7 separate regions of the Homo sapiens genome follow, and all the other regions are linked to region 1. Evidence: promoter capture Hi-C in 16 types of primary human blood cells and fetal thymus (Javierre and others, 2016). All regions are on one chromosome and are shown on one strand. The core of a region is centred on a gene start or on the middle of the fragment in contact, and the rest is flanking DNA. Distances in the headings are between cores, read along the strand shown. Region 1 holds the start of CITED1 (Cbp/p300 interacting transactivator with Glu/Asp rich carboxy-terminal domain 1). Region 2 holds the start of ZCCHC13 (zinc finger CCHC-type containing 13). Region 3 overlaps FTX (FTX transcript, XIST regulator). Region 4 overlaps JPX (JPX transcript, XIST activator). Region 5 overlaps JPX (JPX transcript, XIST activator). Region 6 holds the start of JPX (JPX transcript, XIST activator). Region 7 holds the start of CHIC1 (cysteine rich hydrophobic domain 1).

Region 1 (3,033 bases), core at 215-2,714:
AAGTGATCACCAGACAAGAAGTCTAACACATGTCGTCTTCAAGAGCCCTAGCACAATCAGTATCAGACAATTTTCCTGTCCTAAGAAAAATGTCTGGGGGCCCTGTCCATCTTTTCCTGTTCCTATCCAGCCTTCCCTCTCCTTTTTGCCGCTTGGTACCCGAATGTACAAAACGAAGAAAAAACAACAGGAGCAGCAGCAACAACAGCAAAACCAAAAGAGAAACATTAGAAAAATCAAAAGAGAGAACGAGCAAAAAAACTCTCTCTATTCTGATATCAGTTCGTGGGGGAAGACCATTTTACCGCGCCTCCCTCTTCAATCTGGGAGCTCCCCCAGAAGAGGCCCTGTGTCCATTCAGATCTTCTGCCTTCCATTACTGACCCACCACCCACCCTGACCCCAGCCTGGGTCTGCGCTCAATAGGCGCTCAGTAAGTGTTGTTGAATGCGTCTGAAGAAGCAATCGCATTTCCATCGGCATCCCTGGCTCTGCTTCCCCGGCTTTCTGCCCTCCTCCACCACCCTCTAGCCCGTTCGTGGGCAAAACTTGGCAACGCGGAAACGTCCCAGCCCGCTCTCCAAGCCGCGAGCTGACCACTGCGAAACGGCTGCGACAGGCGGCTGGGAAACCTAGAGCAACAAGTGCCTTCTCGCCGGCTGATGCCTGGCGGCCCCCCGGCCACCAGTTCCCAGTCCCGCTGCCCGCTCTTCGCTTCAGGCCTTCCCTTGGGCGAGCAGCCCCCTCCCGCCTAGACAGGGGTGGGAAGGGGAGAGGGAAAAGAGAAGGGAGAGGCAGGTGGGGGCCTCATCTTTAACCTGTTGGGGGACCAAAAGTTAAAATGGCACCAACCGGATGGTTCCATCTCGATTGCTATTTTCTCACTCAGAAGGAGAAATTTAAAAATCCAAACAGCACTGCGGCTTGGCTTGGACGCGCTCTAACCAGACCAGTCAGTTTCGCCACCTGAAAACTAAAGGCCCGTTGTTTGCGGACAGCTCGGCTGCCCTCCTCGCCGCATCCCAGATGGAGCCGCGGAACCGGGGGCGGCCGGGAGCATCCCTTGCACGGCGGGCGCGTGCACCCAGGCCACCGGGGCCCTGAGCGTCCGTTCCCGCAAGTGCTGTATCAGGAACTGATCTTAGAGACAGGATGGACAGGCAGGAAGGGGCACGGGGTGTCGGCCTCCGCGGCGAGTCCGCACTCCGGCGCCGGCTGCTGCCACTCTCGCGCCTGATCAACACTTACTGAGCGCCCGCTGAGCATCCGACGCGGCAGCAGGCTGAGCCTACCCCCTAGCCAAGCCGCCTGCGGTCAGTGCTAAAACCCCGCTAGGAGAAGAGTGAGAGAGGCTCGGAGAGGTGCGGTAACTTGCCCAAGGTCACAGCGCTAGAAAGTGGCGGAGCCGGGATTCGCAGCCAGGTCTCTCTGACTCCAAGTCCGGTGCTCTGCGAAGCAGGGACTCGGCGCGCGGCTCGCCAGCCCGCGTTTATAGGGAGAGGGGTGTGCGCGTGGGTGTGTGTGTGTGGGCGTGTGTCGGGGGAGGGGAGGGCTGAGGTCGACTGGGCAGTAGAGGCAAGTTGCCCAAATTCGCTAACTTCCATCCCGCAATTCCGCTGAACTCGGCCCGAAAAGCCCCCTCTTGCCTCAATTCCCCGAAGTAAATCTGAGCTTTGTGCAGCTCCGGAGCCAGAGCGTCCAGATGCGGTCCGGGAGATTAGCAAAGTCGGTGGAAGCCAAGCTGGAGAAAGCGCGGGCGCAGGGAGAAAAGGTGCTGCCGTCTCCCCGGGAGAAGCGGGCACCCGGCCCCGCTGGCCGGCAGGGGGGCGCGCTGGCAAGCGAACCCGAGCGCTGGCGGGCGGGCGGGCGGGCGGCCCCTCGCCCCCAGCAGAGCAGCTTTCCAACAGAAAGCAAGTCTCCCCAGAACCCTCCGGCCCGCCTGGCGGCCGCCCACTCCCCATACCCGCTCCACGGGAGTCCTCGGCCCCGCCGCCCAGCCCGGCGCCCAGCCCGGCGGCCCGGCTTACCTCTGAGAAGCCGCCTGCCCTGGAGAGAGGGAAGCGCGGAGCTCGGTGAGCCGCAAGAGAGGCGGCGGAGCCCCCAGCCCCTGGCACGCACGCCGCCGCCACCGCTACCGCGAACCGGTCGCGCTCAGCGCCCGCGGCCGCGCCGTTGGCCACCCGACCCCGGGGCGCCTGGGAAAAGCCCGCACCGCGCCGCGCCGCCGCTGCACCGCACAGTGCCGCGCCAAGCAGCCCCTGACCGAGCTGGTGCCCGCCCGCCCGCCCGCAGCTTCGGCGCCGGACTCCGGGGCGGTGGCGGTGGCGGCCACCGCGCTCCCTTCCCGGCGCTGGGGACCCGGCTCTCAAGCCCCCATTGCCGCCCGGAGAGCCCTGACGCACACGCACACGGCAGCAGACTGGCCTCGGCTAGGAATCCCAGGAAGGACAGACCCTTTTTTTCCCTTTTTTTTTCTCCCCTCAATTTCCACGTCTTTATAACCGGCTTAGGGCATTATTAGCACATGTCCTGGCTCGTGGGCGAGTTGGTGGCAAAATCTGAACTGGATACTCACGGAGGGCCCGCGCGGGTGCTGTGCCGTCCGCTGCTCTCTTCCTCCTCACCGAGAACTGCCCCTCGCCGGCGGACTACAAGAGGGCAGCCGGGCAGAGCGAGCTTCCTCTCGGCAGCTCAGCGGTGCCCCTTCTGCAGCTTTGCCGCCGGGCACATTTTTATAGCAGCGGCTGGCGTCTGTGGCCCTTTAAAGGCGCTCGAGCTGGTGCAGTCACCGCGGATCGTGTGAAAGCAAAGGGCCGGCTGGGGAACGGAGTCCACGCGGCCACGCGAGTCCGGCAGCCCTGTGGACCGGCCAAGGCTCCCGGGGTGGGGCTGGCGAGTCCGGGCTATGGGCAGCCCTCGCCCGGAGCCCTGGCCAGTGCCCGGCTTCTAAAGCTGTCGGGGGCCAGGGCCCGGGACACCGGCTCTCCCCACCGCCCTGCGTGGACTTGCCCAATAAATTCCACTTAGTAATTT
Region 2 (3,033 bases), core at 305-2,804, 2.0 Mb after region 1:
CCACCATGCCTGGCCAATTTTTGTATTTTTAATAGTGGCAGGGTTTCACCATGTTGGTCAGGCTGGTCTTGAACTCCTGACCTCATGATCTGCCCACCTCGGCCTCCCAAAGTGCTGGGATTACAGGCGTGAGCCACCGCGCCCGGCCAGACTCAATATTTTTAAGATAACAATGGTCTCCAAAATGATCTACAGATTCCATAATCCATATCAAACACCCGTTTGCCTTTTTTTGCAGAAATTGACAAGCTGATCCTAAAATTCATATGAAAATGCAAGGAACTCAGAATAGTCACATCAAAAGAGCAAAGTTGGAGGCCTTACTCCTCCCAATTTCAAAGTATAATGCAAAGCTACAGTAATCAAGATTATGTGGTACTGGTATAAAGATAAACACACAGATATAGCTATTAAATAGTATTTAGGTAAATATATGAGAAACTAAAGAAATAAAGAATGACAATAACTAACTCCAGAGAACATAAAAACCATGCAGGTAATGAAGTGATCAGAGTACTCTCCAAATGGCTCAGGCATGAGTATCATTTACATACTTATAATTATAAAAACATTGAATATTGTCCCAACCAATATTAAGTGAAGGGAGGCATAGTTGGAATGAGGAGTTTGGACTGTGCAAGTGCATAGGGTGGGTGGTAAAAGAAGACTAAATGTTCATCCTCCAAAATGGAAAGACACAGATAATGTCTAAAATTGAAACATCAAAAAGTCATAGTAGCCAGCATATGATTGTGGTTCCAGCTACTCAGGAGGCTGATTGCTCAAGCCCAAGAGTTTGAGACCTGTCTGGGCAACATAGCAAGACTCCTCCTGTCTAAAATAAATAAATAAATAACTCGTAATATAAAGATATGTTTACACATATGCCTCTAAATAGTATGCTTCAAACTATGAGTTCCAATTATTTAGTGAATTAAGAAACCCAGGGGACAGAGCAAGATCATGGGATAGAAGTCGACACAATTTGTCCCCCTCACCTCCACTGGAACACCAAATTTTTTTTTTTTTTTTTTTTTTTTGAGACAGAGTTTCCCTCTGTCGCCCAGGTTGGAATGCAATGGCGCGATCTTGGCTCACTGCAACCTCTGCCTCCCTGGTTCAACTGCCTCAGCTGGGATTACAGGAGCCCGCCACCATGCCCGGCTAATTTTTGTATTTTTAGTAGAGACGGGGTTTCAACATGTTGGCCAGGATGGTCTCAATCTCTTGACCTCGTGATCCTCCCGCCTTGGCCTTCCCGAAGAGCTGGGATTACAGGCATGAGCCACCGCACCCGGCCGACTAAGTCTTAAATTATGAAAACTTCTACAAGTCTAATTTTCTAAATAGGAAAGGATTCAAACTCAATGATTCAAGTGTTGAAACAAACAAAAACGGAAAACAACACTACTCAGTTAACAGATTATTGTGCTTTTGGCTTCTTGAGTAGGAGGAAAGTCGGGCGGGAAGGGCGTCAGGAATGTCCGTGACACGTGAATGGGGCCGTGTGCAAACCTTGTATGACATCACTGAGACACCTAGCGGAAAACAGCTAATTCTTTCTAAGCCGCCCAAAGCGGGGTTGCGCCGGGGCCTCCGGGGCCGAGGTGGGCCTGCTCATTGGAAGATCGCATCGCAGCCATGAGCAGTAAGGATTTCTTCGCGTGTGGACACTCTGGCCATTGGGCTCGGGGATGCCCTAGAGGAGGAGCTGGAGGGCGAAGAGGTGGAGGCCATGGCAGAGGTTCTCAATGTGGTTCCACCACCCTATCTTACACCTGTTACTGCTGTGGTGAGTCCGGTCGTAATGCTAAGAACTGTGTCCTTCTCGGAAACATCTGCTACAACTGTGGGAGAAGCGGCCACATCGCCAAAGACTGTAAGGATCCTAAACGAGAGAGACGCCAACACTGTTATACCTGCGGCAGACTAGGACATCTGGCTCGTGACTGTGATCGTCAGAAAGAGCAGAAATGCTACTCTTGCGGCAAACTTGGGCACATTCAGAAAGACTGCGCCCAGGTCAAGTGTTACCGATGCGGCGAGATTGGCCACGTGGCCATCAATTGCAGCAAGGCGAGGCCAGGTCAACTGCTACCGCTGCGGCAAATCCCGACATCTAGCCAAGGAATGTCCCAGTGAGGTTACCACTTAAATCTTCCCCCCCACCCCCCACCCTTTTGCTGATTGATAATTGTATTATTTTCTCCGAAAACTTCACTCACCGAAAGGTCGATAGATTGAGGCTACTCTCAGGCAAGTGAGCTTTAATTACCATGTTAAAGGAGGAAAGAGCTAGAAAAAAAAACCTCAAAAAAGTTAATCATTGGTAGATGCCCCACAATTAACGTGTTGCTTCTGCCCCACGGGCAAATCTAGTTATTAAATAGTCATTCTGAGCACCAATCACTTAAGGGGTTCTTTTGTTGTATTTTGATTTAACACATTTAATTAAGAGGCACTATTGGAAGAGCTGGATCTAAATGGTGAACAAATTAGAACAAATTTAGAAACACAGGCCTAGAATCTATTAACAAGAAAAATAGTGTGTCAGATGAAGGTAAATTGCCATAGAGAGAAAGAACAGGAGGTAAAAGGATAAAAAGAGAATGTGTATGTGGGGGAAAGAGGGAAAGAATGTGGTTCTGTTTTAGATACACAAGGGCACCCTGAGGAGGTTATATTTCCTCAGAGATCCATAGGGCAAATAAAGCTGATTCTGAAAATCCATGACCTTGCCAAAGTAACTTAAATTTTATCATATTGATGGCTTTGAATTATCTGGCCTCATTAGGTTTTAAACAACATTGAACGAGACATCTCTGTCTGGCCCTGCATAGAGTGTGTAGTTTAATGAAAATAAACCAGAAACAAAATGTATAATGTATATGAGCTGCTTTGAGAGAGAGAGCAATCAGAAAAAAACAGAAACAAAAAATCTTAACAGGCCGGGCGCAGTGGCTTACACCTGTAATCCCAGCACTTTGGGAGGCCAGACCAGAAGGATCACTTGAGCCCAGGAGTTTGAGAGCA
Region 3 (3,033 bases), core at 308-2,807, 1.8 Mb after region 1:
GCAGAATGTTGCCCATAGTGGAGAAGGTAAGTTTAAAGAGGAAGGTAGAGACACGGAGAAATGGAGGTGGCAACTACAGGCTTCCCGTAGGCATCCCTGACTGAGTCCTGGGCTGTAATGTGGGTGAGCAGCCAAAGCAGGCATCCCCATAATTGACCTGCCACCAAGAGAATGTGGGTGAATGATCAAGACAGGTGTCCCCACGGTGATCAGACACCAAGGGAAGACTGTCTTCCCAAGTCCGTGACCAACATCGGAGTTTTTGAATGCACAGATAAAGTGTGTCTCCTTTTTGTCTCTACCAGGAAGGGAGAGAAACTGAAATTGAAAGGAGAGAGATTGAAGGGAGGCAATAGAGGTTAGGTAGAGAGCAAAAACACTGCTTACCCGAGTGCAAATAACTGCTTACCGATTTGAAATTGGTGAAATGGTCCTTGGGCTGGCTGGTCTGATGACCTGAGGTCGTAGGTGGATCTCCTCACAGAGGTAGCATGAGGACAGGGGACCAGTCTCCTGAAGGAGTTCCCCTGTCCCGGGTCTTCAGCACCAAATACTATGTGTGTCCGTATAAGAGACCACCTGAGCAGGCTTAGTGTAAGCAACAAGGCTGTTTATTCACTTGGGTGCAAGTGGGCTGAATCCAAGAAAGGAGTCAGCAAAGGGTGGTGGGATTATCATTTATTCTTATAGGTTTGGGATAGGCAGTGGAGTCAGAAGCAATTTTTTGCAGGCAGGGGATGGATGTTACAAATACATTAACAAGGGCGGGGAGGGTGTATTGTCACAAGGGCGGGGAATGTTACAAACTACCTTCACAAGGATGGGGAATATCACAAAGTACATTATCACAAGGGCGGGGGAATGTCACGATGGCTTGACCATGGTGCGGCCAGCTCAGAGGACCTTACAGAGCTTACTTACTATACTCATCCTACTCCACTGCAAAACATGCCATTCCTATTATTAGGGGAAAAAAAGAGACTTAATGTCTTGTGCCCAAGCAGGGTCTGGGAAAACTGCAGCATTTCTTTTACCCGTACTGAGTCAGATATATATAGATGGTCCAGGAAAAGCTTTGAAGGCTGTGAAGGAAAATGGAAGGTATGGATGCCATGAACAATACTCAATCTCCTGGGTTTTAGCCCCAACAAGAGAATTGGCTGTACAGATATGAGGAAGTCAGAAAATTTTCATACCAGCCTAGAGTTCATCCTTGTGTAGTTTATGGTGATGCTGATATTGGTCAGCAAATTCAGGTCTTAGAACATGGATGCCACTTGTTAGTAGCCACGCCAGGAGGTCTAGTGGATTTGATGGAAAGAGGAAAGATTGGATTAGACTTCTGCAAATACTTAGTGTTGGATGAAGCTGATAGGATGCTGGATATGGGATTTGGACCTCAGATACATCTTATACTTGAACAAGATACTATGCCACTGAAGGGCATTCATCACATCATGATGTTTAGTGCTACTTTTCCTAACGAAATACAGATGCTTGCTCGTGACTTTTTGGATGAATATATCTTTTTGGCTGTAGGAAGAGTAGGCTCTACCTCTGAGACTATCACACAGGAAGTAGTTTGGGTGGAAGAGCCAGATAAACGGTCATTTCTGCTTGATCTCTTAAATGCACCAGGGAAGGATTCACTGACTTTAGTGTTTGTGGAGACCAAAAAGGGAGAAGATTCTCTGGAGAATTTCTTATACCATGAAGTATATCCTTGTACTAGTATTCATGGAGACCAATCACAGAGAGATCGAGAAGGAGGCCCTTCATCAGTTTTGCTTGGGGAAAATCCCAATTCTAGTGGCTACAGCTGTGGCAGCATGAAGACTAGACATTTCAAATGTGAAACATGCTTCAATTTTGATTTGCCAAGTGATATTGAAGAATATGTGCCTTGTATTGGCTGTACAGGATGTGTGGGAATCCAGGGTCTTGCCACCTCATTCTTTAATTAAAGAAATATGAATATTACAAAGGATTTGTTGGATATTCTTATAGAAGCTAAACAAGAAGTGCCTGCTTGGTTGGAAAATAAAGCTTATAAACACCACTACAAGGGTGGTATTCATGCATGATCTAAAAGATTCAGTGGAGGATTTGGTGCCAGAGACTATTGACAAAGTAGTGGTTCCAGCAGTTCTGGCTTCAGTAGTAGTCATACAAGCAGCAGCTGCAGTGGTGGAGGTGGTCATGGCAGCAGCAGCAGATGTGGTGGAGGTAGCTATGGAGGCTTCTACAACAGTGATGGATGTGGAGGAAATTATAATTCTTGTTATAAGAGTTATTAAGAGCTGGGCGCGGTGGCTCACACCTGTAATCCCAGCACTTTGGGAGGCTGAGGCAGGCGGATCACGAGGTCAGGAGTTCGAGACCAGTCTGGCCAACATAGTGAAACCCCATCTCTACTAAAAATACACAAAAAATTAGCCAGGCGTGGTGTTGTGCACCTGTAATCCCAGCTATTTGGGAGGCTGAGGCAGGAGAATCACGTGAACCCAGGAGGCGGAGGTTGCAGTGAGCCGAGATCGTGCCACTGCACTCCAGCCTGGGTGACAGAACAAGACTCTGTCTCAAAAAAAAAAAAAAAAAAAAAAAAAGAAAGAGTTATTAAGAAATTATTTTAAGCAGATAAGAAAAGGGGTCCTTGGGAAGTTCTTTTTTTTCTTTTAGAGCAACTCCAGAAACATTTCTTGTCTAGCAGGAAAGCTAGGCCAGCAAGCTTTGATATGCAAATACCGGCCATTAGAAACTGGGCCCACCCAAACATGGCAATTCCTGCAGTCTTATTCTTGCCCTGGCCTCCACATGTGCCTGGCAACACGGCCACCCCCACATATCCACACATGTGTAAAATATCATGGTGCCCTGCATTTGCATATTAAAAGGCTAGGGTGGGAGGGCCAGTTTTTTCTCAGGCTACGTGAATGACATGCTTGGTCAAACCAATCCCCTGAGCCCTATCCAAATCAGACACAAACGTCCTCCAGCCTCCTCATATAAGCAGCCACTTTTCTATCACACTTG
Region 4 (3,033 bases), core at 182-2,681, 1.7 Mb after region 1:
AATTAACCAGCAACCAGCTAATAGTAATACAGAATCAAATATAAACATATCAGTGTTACGTTTGAAATTAAATAGACTACTGTCCTAATAAATGATAAAAAGAGGCAAGTTGGATAAAAAAGACCGAACTGTATGCTGTCTTCCTGAAACCCATTTCAGAAGTAATGGCACCCATTGACTCAAGGTAAAGGGATGGAGAAAATTCTACCAAGCAAACAGAAAAAAGGAGGAGGGACAGATTGCTATTCTAACTTCATAGAAAATAGACTTTAAAACAGCAATTGTCAATAAGGACAGAGAAAGATATAATCATGAAGAGTTCAACTCAACAAGAGCTAACTATATATGCACTGAACACAGGATCATGCGCGTTCATAAAAGAAGTTCCTACAGACCTATGAAGAGACTTAGATAAGCAGACAATAAGAGTGGGAAACTTCACTACCCCATTGACACTATTAGATCACTGAGGCTGAAAGCTAAGAGATATTTTAGTCCTGTACTTGACACTTGACCAAATGGACCTATCAGACATCCATATTAATGTCCACCCAAAACCACCAAGTACACATTCTTCTCATCTGCACATGGCACATACTCTATAGTTGACTACACAGTGGGCCATAAAACAATCCTCACCAAATTCAAATAACAGCAAAATCATACTAAACAGATCTTTGGACCAGAGCACAATAAAAATAGAAATCAACACGAAGATTACTCAACACTATACAATTACATGGAAATTAAGCAACTTGATCCTTAATTATGTTGGCATAAATAATGAAGTTAAAGCAGAAATGGACAAGTTCAATATCTCAATTTAACAAGCTAATATAACAAACAGAGGAATTAGAAAACGAGTACACTAATTCCAAAGCTAGCAGCAGACAAGAAATAACTAACCAGTTTTGAAATTGAATCAGTAATAAAAACCCTACCAACCCTACCTGGACCTGATGGATTTATGGCTGAATACAACCAGATATGTAAGAAAGAGCTGGTGAAATTCCTAGTTAAGCTATTCCAAAATATCAAGGAGGAAGGACTCCTCCCTTAATCATTTTATGAAGCCAGCATGATCCTGATACCAAAACTTGGCAGAGACACAACACAAACTTGAGACAAATATCCTTGATGAACTTAAAAGGAAAAATTCTCAAGAAAATACCAGCAAACCTAATCCACTTGCATATCAGAAAGCAAATTCCCCATGATTAAGGAGGCTATATTTGTGTGATGCAAGGTTGGTACAACATACAGAACTTACGAAAAAAATGTGATTTATCACATAAGCAGAGCTAAAACCATGTTCATCTCTATAGATGCAGAAACTATTTATTTAACATTACTTCATGTTATGAACCCTCAACAAATTAGGCATTGAAGAAACATATCTCAAAATAATGACCCATCTGTTACAAACTCACAGCCAACCTCATAATCAACTGGCAAAAGTTGGAAGCATTCCTTTTATGACCAGAGCAAGTCAAGGATGCTCAGTGTCACCACACCTATTCAACATACTACTGGAAGTTCTAGCTAGAGCAATCAGTTAATAGAAAAGGCATCCAAATAGGAAAAGAAGTAAAACTATCTCTGCAGACAACATGATTTTATACATAGAAAACCTCAAAGCCCCAAAGCTCCTAGATTAGATACAAAACTTCAACAAAGTTTCAGTATAAAAAGTCAGTCTGTAACTTAGCATTTCTATACAGCACCAACATCAAAGCTCAGAATTGAATCAGGAAGGCAAACCCATTCACAATAGCCACAAAAAGCATAAATCACCCAGGAACACATTTAACCAGGAAGGTGAAAGATCACTATAAGGAGAATTACAAAACACTACTGAAGGAAATCATAGATGACACAAATAGGAAGAAATGACATTGTTAAAATGGCCATAATCCCCAAAGCAATTTATACATTAATTGCTATTCAAACTACCAATGACATTCTTTGCAGAATTAATACAACCTTTAAAAATTCATATGGAGTGAAAAAGTCCTAATAGCCAAGGCAATTCTAGACAAAAAACAAACTTGGAAGCATAACATTACCTGAATTTGAAAGTATTCTACAAGATTACAGTAACCATAACAGCATGGTACCGGTATAAAAGTAGACATGGAGGCCAATGGAGCAGAATATAGAACACAAAGCTGTACACCAACAGTCATCTGCTTCTCAACAAAGTTGACAAAACAAGCAATGAAGACAGGACTTCCTGTTCAATAAATGGTGCTGGCATAACTGACTACGTATATATTCAAGGTTGACACTGGACCGCTTCCTTACATTACATATAATGACTCAATATAGATTAAGGGCTTAAATGTAAAATATAATACCATAAAAATGCTAAAATATAACTTAGGAAATACCATGCTGAACATAGGTTCTGAAAAATATTTATGATGAAGACTCCAAATGCAATTACAGCAAAAACAAAAATTGACAAATAGAACCTAGTTAAACTATAGAGATTCTGCACAGCAAGAGAATCTATCAATGGTGAACACAATGTACAGAATGGGAGAAATATCTGCAAATTATGCATCTGACAAAGTTCTAATATCCAGAATTTATAAGCTACTTAAATTCATGGGGAGAAAACCACATTGAAAATATGAAAAAGTACATAGACATTTTTTCAAAGGAAGACATGCATACAGCTAGGAGTCATATGACAAAATGCTGAACATCACTAATCTATAGAGAAATGCTAATTAAAACCACAATGCAATTCTGTCTTACACCAACCAGAATGGCTGTTACTAAAAAGTCAAAAATAGTACGTTGTCGAATCTACAGATAAAAGGGAATGCTTATGGATTGCTCGTTGAATTGTAAATTATTTCATCCATTGTGGATAGCAGCTTGGTGATTTTGCCAATAACAAGAACATCAAACAGAAATACCATTTGATGCAGGAATCCCATTATTGGTTTTATACCAAAAGGAGTATAGATTTTAGGACCATAAAGACACATGAATGTGCATGTCAATTGGAGCACTCTTCATAAT
Region 5 (3,033 bases), core at 292-2,791, 1.7 Mb after region 1:
TTTTTTTTTTTTTTTTTTTCGGAGACAGAGTCTTGCTCTGTCACCCAGGTTGGAGTGTGGTGGCACTATCTTGGCTCACTGCAACCTCTGCCTCCTGGGTTCTCCTGCCTCAGCCTCCCGAGCAGCTGGGATTACAGGCATCTGCCACCATGCCTAGCTAACTTTTGTATTTTTAGTTGAGACAGGGTTTCACCATGTTGGCTAGGTTGGTCTTGAACCCCTAACCTCAGGTGATCCACCCTCCTTGACCTCCCAAAGTGCTGGGATTACAGGCATGAGCCACAGTCCCCGGCCCAATACTTAACATCTTTGCATGATAAAAACCTGAACAAGTTAGGTATAAAAGGAAGATGTCTCAACACATTAAAGGCCCTATATGACCGGCCCAGAGCTGAAATCTTAACACCGAAGAGTTGAAGGCTTTTTCTCTAAGATCAGGAACAAGACATGGATGCCATTTTTTCTCCTTCTGTTCAGTGTTGTACTGGAAGTCATAGCAAGAGCATTTAGGCAAGAGAAATAAAAGACATCTAAGTAGGAAAAGAAGAAAAAACTTGCCTCTCCTGATTATCTTATCTTATAGCTAGAAAACCTTAAAGACTCCATTAAAAAAAAAAAAACTATAGAACTAATAAAATGAATTCCATAAAAAGTGCTACGTACAAAATTGACAATTAAGTCTGTAGCATTTCTATACACTAACAAACAACAATCTATCCAAAAAAGTAATCAGGAAACTAATCACATTTACACTATTTACTAAGTAAACAAACTTATGAATGAATTTAACCAAGTAGGTTAAAGATCTGTATAGTGAAAACATTGATGAAACGAATTGAAGATTACAAAAATAGAAATTTTTCTTTGTACATGGATTGGGAAATTTATATTGTTATAATTTTCATACTGCCAAAAGAAACATACAGATTCTGTGTAATCAATATTTCAATGTCCTTTTTATTTTTATTTTTTTTACAGAAATACAAAAAAAATTCTAAAACTTGTATGGAACTACAAAAGACATTAAATAATCAAAGTAATCTTGAGCAACAAGGACACAGCTGGAGGCATCACTCTACCTGATTTTGTAATCCATTATCAAAAAACTGTGGTACCAGCATAAAAACAGATTCACTGACCAGTGGAACAGGAAAGCCCAGACATAACTCATACATTTCCATCCAATTGATTTTTGACAAAAGTGGCACACAGAATGGGGAGAGGACAAATAAATAAATAAATTGTTTTGAGATATCTGTATATCTATATGTGAAATTGAACCATTTTCTCATAGCATATAGAAAAATCAACTCAAAATGGATTAAAGCCTGAAATGTTGCCTTTGAAACTGTAAAACTACTAGTAGAAAATATAGGGGAAAAGCTCTATGATGTTGTTCTGGGCAATGATTTCTTGGATACATCCTTAAAAGCATGGGCAGCAAAAACAGCCAGACAACTATCAGGGAACCTGCCCAGATAGTCACATAGGTTCTTTTCTATTTTCCCTAAGCATTGGCCGGGTTGAGAAATAAAGGGACAGAGTACAAAAGAGAGAAATTTTAAAGCTGGGCATCCTGGGGAGACATCACATGTCGGTAGGTTCCGTGATGCCCCCTGAGCCGTAAAACCAGTAAGTTTTTATTAGGGATTTTCAAAGGGGAGGGAGTATACGAATAGGAGGTGGGTCACAGAGATCACGTGCTTCACAAGGTAATAGAATATCACAAGGCAAATGGAGGCAGGGCGAGATCACAGGACCACAGGACTGGGTTGAAATTAAAATTGCTAATGAAGTTTCGGGCACCATCGTCATTGATAACATCTTATCAGGAGACAGGGTTTGAGAGCAACCTGTCTGACCAAAATTTATTAGGTGGGAATTTCCTCGTCCTAATAAGCCTGGGAGCGCTATGGGAGACTGGGGCTTATTTCATCCCTACAGTCTCGACCATAGAAGACAGCTACACCCAAGGGGGCCATTTTAGAGGCCCACCCTCAGGGGCACATTCTCTTTCTCAGGGATGTTCCTTGCTGAGAAAAAGAATTCGGCGATATTTCTCCCATTTGCTTTTGAAAGAAGAGAAATATGGCTCTGTTCCGCCTGGCTCACCGGCGGTCAGAGTTTAAGGTTATCTCTCTTATTCCCTGAACATTGCTGTTATCCTGTTCTTTTTTCAAGGTGCCTAGATTTCATATTGTTTAAACACACATGCTCTACAATTTCTGCACTTAACACAATTATCACAGGGTCCTGAGGCGACATACGTCCTCCTCGGCTTACGAGATGACAGGATTAAGAGATTAAAACAGGCATAGGAAATCACAAGGGTATTGATTGGGGAAGTGATAAGTGTCCATGAAATCTTCACAATTTATGTTTAGAGATTGCAGTAAAGACAGGCATAAGAAATTATAAAAGTATTAATTTGGGGAACTAATAAATGTCCATGAAATCTTCACGATCCACGTTCTTCCGCCATGGCTTCAGCCAGTCCCTCCGTTTGGGGTCCCTGACTTCCCGCAACAGACAACTTGAGTTGCATCAAACTAAAAAGCATCTGCACTGCAAAGGGTACAGTTAACAGAATGAAGACACGGGTTTTGAGAAACCATTTTCAAATCATATATCTGATAAGGGGCTAATATCCAAAATGTATTAAGAAACCCAAGCCCAATAGCAAGAAAACAACTGTCTTTAAAAGGGGGAAAAGGACCTCAACTTAAATTTTTCAGAGGAAGACATGAGTGGCCAATTGATTGATACATGAAAAAAATGCTCAACATCTCTAATCATTAGTGAGTTGCAAATCAAAACTGCAAGATATTACCTTACACCTTTTAGAATGGCTATTATTAAAAGGATGAAAGACAGGTGCTGGCAAGGATGTGGATAAAAGGAAGTCCCAACATTCTGTTAGTGGGAATATAAATTAGTATAGCCAATTTAGGAAACTATATGGTGGTTCCTTAAGAAACTAAAAGTACAATTACTATATGATCTAGCAATCTCTACTTAGGTATATATCCAAAG
Region 6 (3,033 bases), core at 281-2,780, 1.6 Mb after region 1:
TCAGCCTCTCGAGTAGCTGGGATTGCAGGTGCCCACCGCCACATCCAGCTAATTTTTGTATTGCTGTAATTGTTGGCCAGTCTGGTCTCAAACTCCTGATCTCAGGTGATCCGCCCACCTCGGCCTCCCAAAGTGCTGGGATTACAGGCATGAGCCACCGTGCCCGGCAGGTTTCACTCATTTTTATCCCCCTTTCTACTTACCATTAAATTACTACAGAGGGATGTTTTGTACCTGCCCCAAAATAAATGCATGGTGTGCTACTGCCAAAAGAAAATATGACAGAATTTACAGTCATATTTGCCTCCTCTGCAACATTCAGACTTGATCCTTCTTTTACCCTACATTGTCTATCTGATTCCCTACTCTTTTAGTACTAGTTCTTTCTTAGGAGCTCAACAGTTCCTTTTGCAATTGGTTTTTGGTGCCTGTCCTACAAATTTCCAAGATGTGCTCAAATATGCCTAAACCCTAGGAGATGAAACAGTTTAAGCTTAGAGACCTCTCCACCTCTATTACTGACCTTTGAACACGTAACTGGTTTTATGTGGTGTTTTTGGTGTTTTACTCCAAAATGTCCATATGTCAATGCCCAGATGTTTTATACAACTGTGTATCATTACCTTCCTTTTGAGGGTGACGATATCAAAATAAAGACAGAAAAGTAATGATGCAAATGAATAGAATAAGAGGTGTTCTATGTGGGGGTCTCGTAGAAAACCAGAGACAACATTAGTGCATAGAGAGAAACTATAGCTTTGGAAAGGGATTAGGACCTCTAAAGTGTCTTTTCCTTACCGGTGAAGCACAAGCCTTCCCCCAGAAACCTGCACCACTCACACATAATGCTTCACAAACAAGTTTTGGCCTCGGTTTTTTCATACTTTTGGGGCTGGTATCCAGCTAGTGTATTTTCCCTCATGGAGCGGGAACAACAGAGATAAAGGTTTTGATAAATATAGAGGCCTCTTAGAAGTGTCAGGACTGAATCTAAAAGAGCTGAATCTAAAAGAAGAGGGAGGCTGGGTGCGGTGGCTCACGCCTATAATACCAGCACTTTGGGAGGCTGAGGCGGGTGGATCACTTGAGGTCAGGAGTGCAAGACCAGCCTGGCCATGATGGTGAGACCCCCGTCTCTAGTAAAAATTAGCTGGACATGGTGGCAGATGCCTGTAATCCCAGCTACTTAGGAGGCTGAGGCTGGAGAATCGCTTGAACCCAGGAGGCGGAGGTAGCACCGAGCCAAGATCGCGCCACTGCACTCCAGCCTGGGCGACAGAGCAAGACTCCGTCTCAAAAAAATAAAACAAAAATAAATAAAAGAAGAGGGAAGATGGAAGGACTTTTAGGCTCAAGAGCAGCATCTCAACTCTTTTTTTTTTTTTTTTTTTTTGAGACGGAGTCTGGCACGGTCGCCCAGGCTGGAATGCAGCAGCACGATCTCAGCTCACTGCAACCTCCGCCTCCCGGGTTCAAGCGATTCTCCCACCTCAGCCTCCCAAGTAGCTGGGATTACACTGAGATTACAGGCAAGCGCCACCACACCTGGCTACCAACTCTTTTATGAAGACTCTTTTGTTTACAGAATTAAAGGAAGCACCTTGTTCTGAATCCAGTTTTGCCATTGACGGACTCACTGTATGACTAGGCCAAAACCCTCTGGTTTCTGTTTTCCCATTAGTTGGTTGAAGTACATACACCCTCATCTATCGGAACACGGGGCTTAGTAAAGTGAAAAGAAGTAGGTTCTAGCTCATTCTAGCACTTTTGGAAAATTGGGTCACCTCTTTGGGCCTTAATTTCGTCATCTATAAAACAGGAAAAAATCAGTCCTCAGCTTACCTGATGTTGCAATGACTTAGTGAGATAACAGAAGTGAATGGCAGCTTTGTCTATCATACTTGTGAGGTAAAGTTAATGAGAGTGAGAGATCTGGAAATAGGGAAGAAAGAAAGGAGTCGAGGCAAAGCTAAAAGAAATTTGGGTTGGGAAAGGAAAAAAGAAATGAAGAGAAAGAAAAAGGAAAAGGGAATTTCAAAAGAGATAAAGGCTGTGAGAGGAAGTGCAACAGGTCAGGAAACTGGGGGAGGGTCCACGGCAACGGCTGCGGCACGGCAACGGCTGCGGCACGGCAACGGCTGGGGCACGGCAACGGCTGGTGCATGTTGCCGGCGGAGGCATTTAGGTAGTGCACGACGGCTGGGCGCCGGGCCTGTTTGGCTGTGACGCCCACCCCCGGCTTTCATCCGCCTATGCCCTAGGGCTAGTGGAAGACTTAAGATGGCGGCGTTTGCACGGAGTGCAATCACTGCGTCCTTACGGGGGTTGCAAGGCGTCCGAAGTATGAGTCCACTAACAAAAGTCCAGAAACTCGCCAGTTAATAGTATTGTGGTGAGTGATGAGCCTCACGTTGGCTAGAGAAGTGGCCGTTAGCGAGGCTACACACTTTGGGATCGCGTGGCCTGAGTCGGGGGAGTAACCGGCCTGTATTCCATTTTTCTCTCTCCAGTCTCTTCAAAATATCGGAGAATAATTTCTTTCTCGCTGATCGCCTAACTTCTACTGACGAAGCTTGGAAGTTGCAGAAGGTAGCTCCTAGGAGGGATATATGGGTCGTTCTTTCCTTTTTCCTTATTTAAATGGGTTTTTATTGACACCATGTCGCGCCAAAATGGATTCCATCTCCTCAGAGCTTTCCTAGGAACAGCCTAACCTCTTGGGCCTAACTTTATTTTTTTTTTGTTCTGCCTTTCATGTCCAGACTTATTAGTTTTAATTAATTTGTTTGTAACGTATTCATTATGCACTAGATTAAACAATTTTTTTCTGTGCCCACTATACCCCAAATGTGGAGTTTTGGGCAAAAACTTAACATTTGTTCTTGAAGCATCTCAGAGGTGTGTGTGTGTGTGTGTAATCTTTGGGGGACTTACATTGCCAGGTTGATTACTCACTAAGAAAAGAGCTAGATTTCCTGTTTTCAAATCTGTTGGCGAAATTAAGTTTATGTTAAGCATAGCATGTTTACTATA
Region 7 (3,033 bases), core at 148-2,647, 1.3 Mb after region 1:
AAATGCTTTGTTTATACTGATAATGTCGTGCTCATCCTAAATTAAAGTTTGACTATGTCTGTTTCCCCAGAGACACACCATCTGATTGGGATGCAGCCGTAGAGTAGCAGAAAGAGCAGTGAAGCTGGTATTAGAATGCCTGGATTACAGTGTTTGTTCTGTTACTTAGCAGCTGTGTGACTTTACTGTCTTAATGATATGGATTTTTGTGCTGCTGCCAAGTATGAAACAGTTTGGCACACTATTTAGATACGCAAAATATGTGATCCCCACAACATTTTAGTGAGTGTAAAGAAGATAGGATAGACCATTTAAAATGGAAAATTTTGAACAAAAGGTCACCATAGACTTGAATAAATTACTTAAACTTCTGAGACCCACTTTTGTCATGTAATAAAATAGATATAATGATACTTACCTCTCAGGATTAAGGGTTAACTGAAATATTGTATGTGAGGGTCTAGCTCAGTGTCTGGAAAATGGATGATGTTAATTAAGGTTTCCTTAGGTTGGAATGCTCCTTTCACCCCCTCCATCCGCCCCCTCCCCCAAAAAACACTCCAAAATTCAAACATGCATATTCTGATTCATCTTTTAAGGAAGAGCCCAAGAGGCACCATTCTACAAAATCTTTCCAAACAACTTCAGGCAGTACAGCCCTTTGGTTAAGAGTACTGGGCTTCTGGAATCAGAAGAGACCACCAAATTTAAAACCAGGTCTCCCATTTAGTAGCTCCCTGACACTGGACAAATTACTTATTTTCTCTGCACCTAGATTTCCCATCTGTAATATAAAATCATCATGATACATACCTCATAGGGTTGCAGAGGATTAAATGAGATATACATACAGAGCACTTAGCACAGTCCCTGAGTTAATAAGTCCTCCGTTAAGTATTACATAGGAGAAGTAGTAAAAAGTTTCCTCTTAAGTAAAATGCTAATAAAAGTGCTTACCCTGCCTCCCAAGATTGTGGCAAAGTTATGACGCAAGGCTTTTAAACTGTAATGCTGAACAAACGTAAGGGATTGGTATATACCTTGAGATATTTTGGACAAAGTTCTAACCTTACTTTTATACAATATGCTTTCTCTCACCCGCCTGCAGTTGGGTTAATAATGCCCAGCATTAATTAATAAGCAATAAAATCAGAAGATACCCCGAATACAAGTAGCTGACGCTCAGAGAGCAGTATTAAGGCGAGCACCCGCAGACCGGACCTGGATAACTCCTTGGAGTTCACCTCTAGCGGCCCCCTCCCCTTGGAGCTGCGCAAGCGTACACTGACTTTGCTCCTCTCTAGTGCCCCCGCCTCCAGCAGCCGCCCCCCCACCCCCCCGTCTGCCCAACACGCAGGCGCGTCTCCTCAAATCCTGTCCCTACACCCCTCCTCTTTCTCTTCATTTCGTTCCCCCTCCTCTTGCAGCACCTCGGCAGGTTCAAACTCTTCTCCGGGAGCGTGGCGGCGATCGCGAGGTCACGTGATGAGCATCCTGCTGCCCAACATGGCGGAGTTCGACACCATCTCGGAACTGGAGGAGGAGGAGGAAGAAGAAGCGGCAACGTCGTCGTCGTCGCCGTCGTCGTCGTCGTCGGTATCTGGGCCCGACGATGACGAGGAGGATGAGGAGGAAGAGGAGGAAGAGGAGGAGGAGGAAGAAGAGGAGGAGGAGGAAGAGGAGGAGGAAGCGCCGCCCCCGCCTCGGGTAGTGAGCGAGGAGCATCTGCGGAGATATGCTCCCGACCCTGTATTAGTGCGGGGTGCCGGCCACATCACTGTGTAAGCGAGAGGGGGTCTTGGGACTTGAAATGCCTGAGATTTGGCAACAGAGGAATGAGAAGTGATCGAGGGGCCTGTGGAGTGGGGGAGGGTTGACTGATTGACTGAGGCGTACACTTAGGAAAGGACACCTGGTCTAAATGGGGAAACCATGGGTGGATACGTGTGAAGGAAGTGAGGAGAATGTAAATATGATGCACCAATGCCAGGTAAAGAGTGAGTATAGGAGAGGGAAGTTAGGGGTTTGGGAGCCAGAGCGATTGGAGTAGGGGTGAGTCTCCTTTCTTGTATGTATGCTGGCAAGTGAACAGTCTCTAAACTGCAGGATGTACCAGAGGGTTTTTTGCTGACAAGATTGATACTTTGTGGGAAACAGCAATTGCTGTGACATGTGACAAGAACTAGGCTTGCATTCTTCAAAACAGAAACATGATATATTTTGTGAATAATAATAGAATGTTCATTCACCCACGTATTCATCCATCCATTCTTCCTATCGAATCCTTCCTTATATATCACTCGATTAGAGGTTCAGGATGAGAGGCAGCTATGGAAAGTAGAAAAAGAAATGGATTGAGTCAGGGCTCTTAGACGCTGGTCCCGGTTTTGCTTCTTACTGGCCCTGTGACCTTGGTCAGGTTGCTTTTTCTCATTTCTGCGCCTTGATTTCTTCATCTCTAAAATGAAGGGTTTGGAGTAGATGGTTTCTAAAGCTTTTCAGTTCTGAGATAATTTACCTCCAAGGGATTTTGTATGCCCAAGTATGAAATATACAGGCATTAAATATATATGGAAATTAATACTTTGGGAGCTGAGCATAATTTCTTTAAAATTTATCCAGGGTGGTTTTTTAAAAAATTGAAATCTTGAGGAAAAATTGAATATTTCAGAAAATAAAATGGGGAGGGACTTCATAACAGCTACAAGGCAAAAATGTTGATGATTCTCCGGGATTTAAAGAGTGCTTCCTCATTTTTATTTGCTTGGACCATAACTATTTGGAAGTTTGAGTACTGTGTCATGTTCATCCTCTGAACTATGCTATCTTTTACTGCATTTTCAAAATAGGTTGCCTTTTGTTGTTATGTCATGCTGCCTCTGGTTTTGATAATGGCTCACCTAGTCCCTTTGACTTTCAATTGAGTTCATGTTACATTAAATCATATATATGCTACCTCCCTTATATTAGCTTCAATTTTTAACATGTTGAGTTTTTTTTTTTTTTTTTTTTTTTGAGACAGAGTCTCACTCT

What was found. Contacts are between HindIII fragments. The CHiCAGO score rates a contact against its expected background, and 5 or more counts as called.
Region 2: a contact is called between the fragment with the promoter of ZCCHC13 here and the fragment with the promoter of CITED1 in region 1, in 2 of 17 cell types (neutrophils and naive B cells). The highest score is 11.9, in neutrophils.
Region 3: a contact is called between a fragment that was not itself captured here and the fragment with the promoter of CITED1 in region 1, in 6 of 17 cell types (total CD4 T cells, total B cells, fetal thymus and 3 more). The highest score is 11.5, in total CD4 T cells.
Region 4: a contact is called between a fragment that was not itself captured here and the fragment with the promoter of CITED1 in region 1, in 2 of 17 cell types (total B cells and naive B cells). The highest score is 6.6, in total B cells.
Region 5: a fragment that was not itself captured here is called in contact with the fragment with the promoter of CITED1 in region 1 in 2 of 17 cell types (naive CD4 T cells and total B cells); the score reaches 6.8 in naive CD4 T cells.
Region 6: a fragment that was not itself captured here is called in contact with the fragment with the promoter of CITED1 in region 1 in 7 of 17 cell types (naive B cells, total B cells, monocytes and 4 more); the score reaches 10.6 in naive B cells.
Region 7: the fragment with the promoter of CHIC1 here is called in contact with the fragment with the promoter of CITED1 in region 1 in 7 of 17 cell types (total B cells, naive B cells, total CD4 T cells and 4 more); the score reaches 14.4 in total B cells.

The regions. Positions count from the first base shown.
Region 1 is chrX:72,304,450-72,307,482 of GRCh38, forward strand. It overlaps CITED1 (Cbp/p300 interacting transactivator with Glu/Asp rich carboxy-terminal domain 1), which reads right to left and starts at 1,465. Exons shown (of 3, transcript NM_001144887.2): 1 at 1,376-1,465. LOC105373250 (a long non-coding RNA gene) reads left to right here and starts at 1,653. Exons shown (of 3, transcript XR_938441.2): 1 at 1,653-1,771. RefSeq lists a silencer at 2,450-2,744 and an enhancer at 2,471-2,520. The HindIII fragment of the contact is 8,247 bases long and covers 1-3,033 here.
Region 2 is chrX:74,302,626-74,305,658 of GRCh38, forward strand. ZCCHC13 (zinc finger CCHC-type containing 13) reads left to right here and starts at 1,555. Exons shown (of 1, transcript NM_203303.3): 1 at 1,555-2,409. The coding sequence starts at 1,642. The coding sequence ends at 2,142. The HindIII fragment of the contact is 8,144 bases long and covers 1-3,033 here.
Region 3 is chrX:74,129,647-74,132,679 of GRCh38, forward strand. All of the region lies in intron 5 of FTX (FTX transcript, XIST regulator), which reads right to left. It also overlaps the pseudogene DDX3P1. Among named protein-coding and RNA genes, the nearest start is that of MIR421, 87 kb to the right of the region's middle. The HindIII fragment of the contact is 973 bases long and covers 1,072-2,044 here.
Region 4 is chrX:74,020,073-74,023,105 of GRCh38, forward strand. All of the region lies in intron 3 of JPX (JPX transcript, XIST activator), which reads left to right. Among named protein-coding and RNA genes, the nearest start is that of JPX, 77 kb to the left of the region's middle. The HindIII fragment of the contact is 3,239 bases long and covers 1-3,033 here.
Region 5 is chrX:74,003,292-74,006,324 of GRCh38, forward strand. The region is part of intron 3 of JPX (JPX transcript, XIST activator); the gene reads left to right. Among named protein-coding and RNA genes, the nearest start is that of JPX, 60 kb to the left of the region's middle. The HindIII fragment of the contact is 6,389 bases long and covers 1-3,033 here.
Region 6 is chrX:73,942,074-73,945,106 of GRCh38, forward strand. JPX (JPX transcript, XIST activator) reads left to right here and starts at 2,251. Exons shown (of 5, transcript NR_024582.1): 1 at 2,251-2,392; 2 at 2,511-2,589. RefSeq lists an enhancer at 2,276-2,375. The HindIII fragment of the contact is 2,079 bases long and covers 492-2,570 here.
Region 7 is chrX:73,561,800-73,564,832 of GRCh38, forward strand. CHIC1 (cysteine rich hydrophobic domain 1) reads left to right here and starts at 1,398. Exons shown (of 6, transcript NM_001039840.4): 1 at 1,398-1,781. The coding sequence starts at 1,486. It also overlaps the pseudogene MAP2K4P1. RefSeq lists a silencer at 1,318-1,377. The HindIII fragment of the contact is 6,151 bases long and covers 1-2,492 here.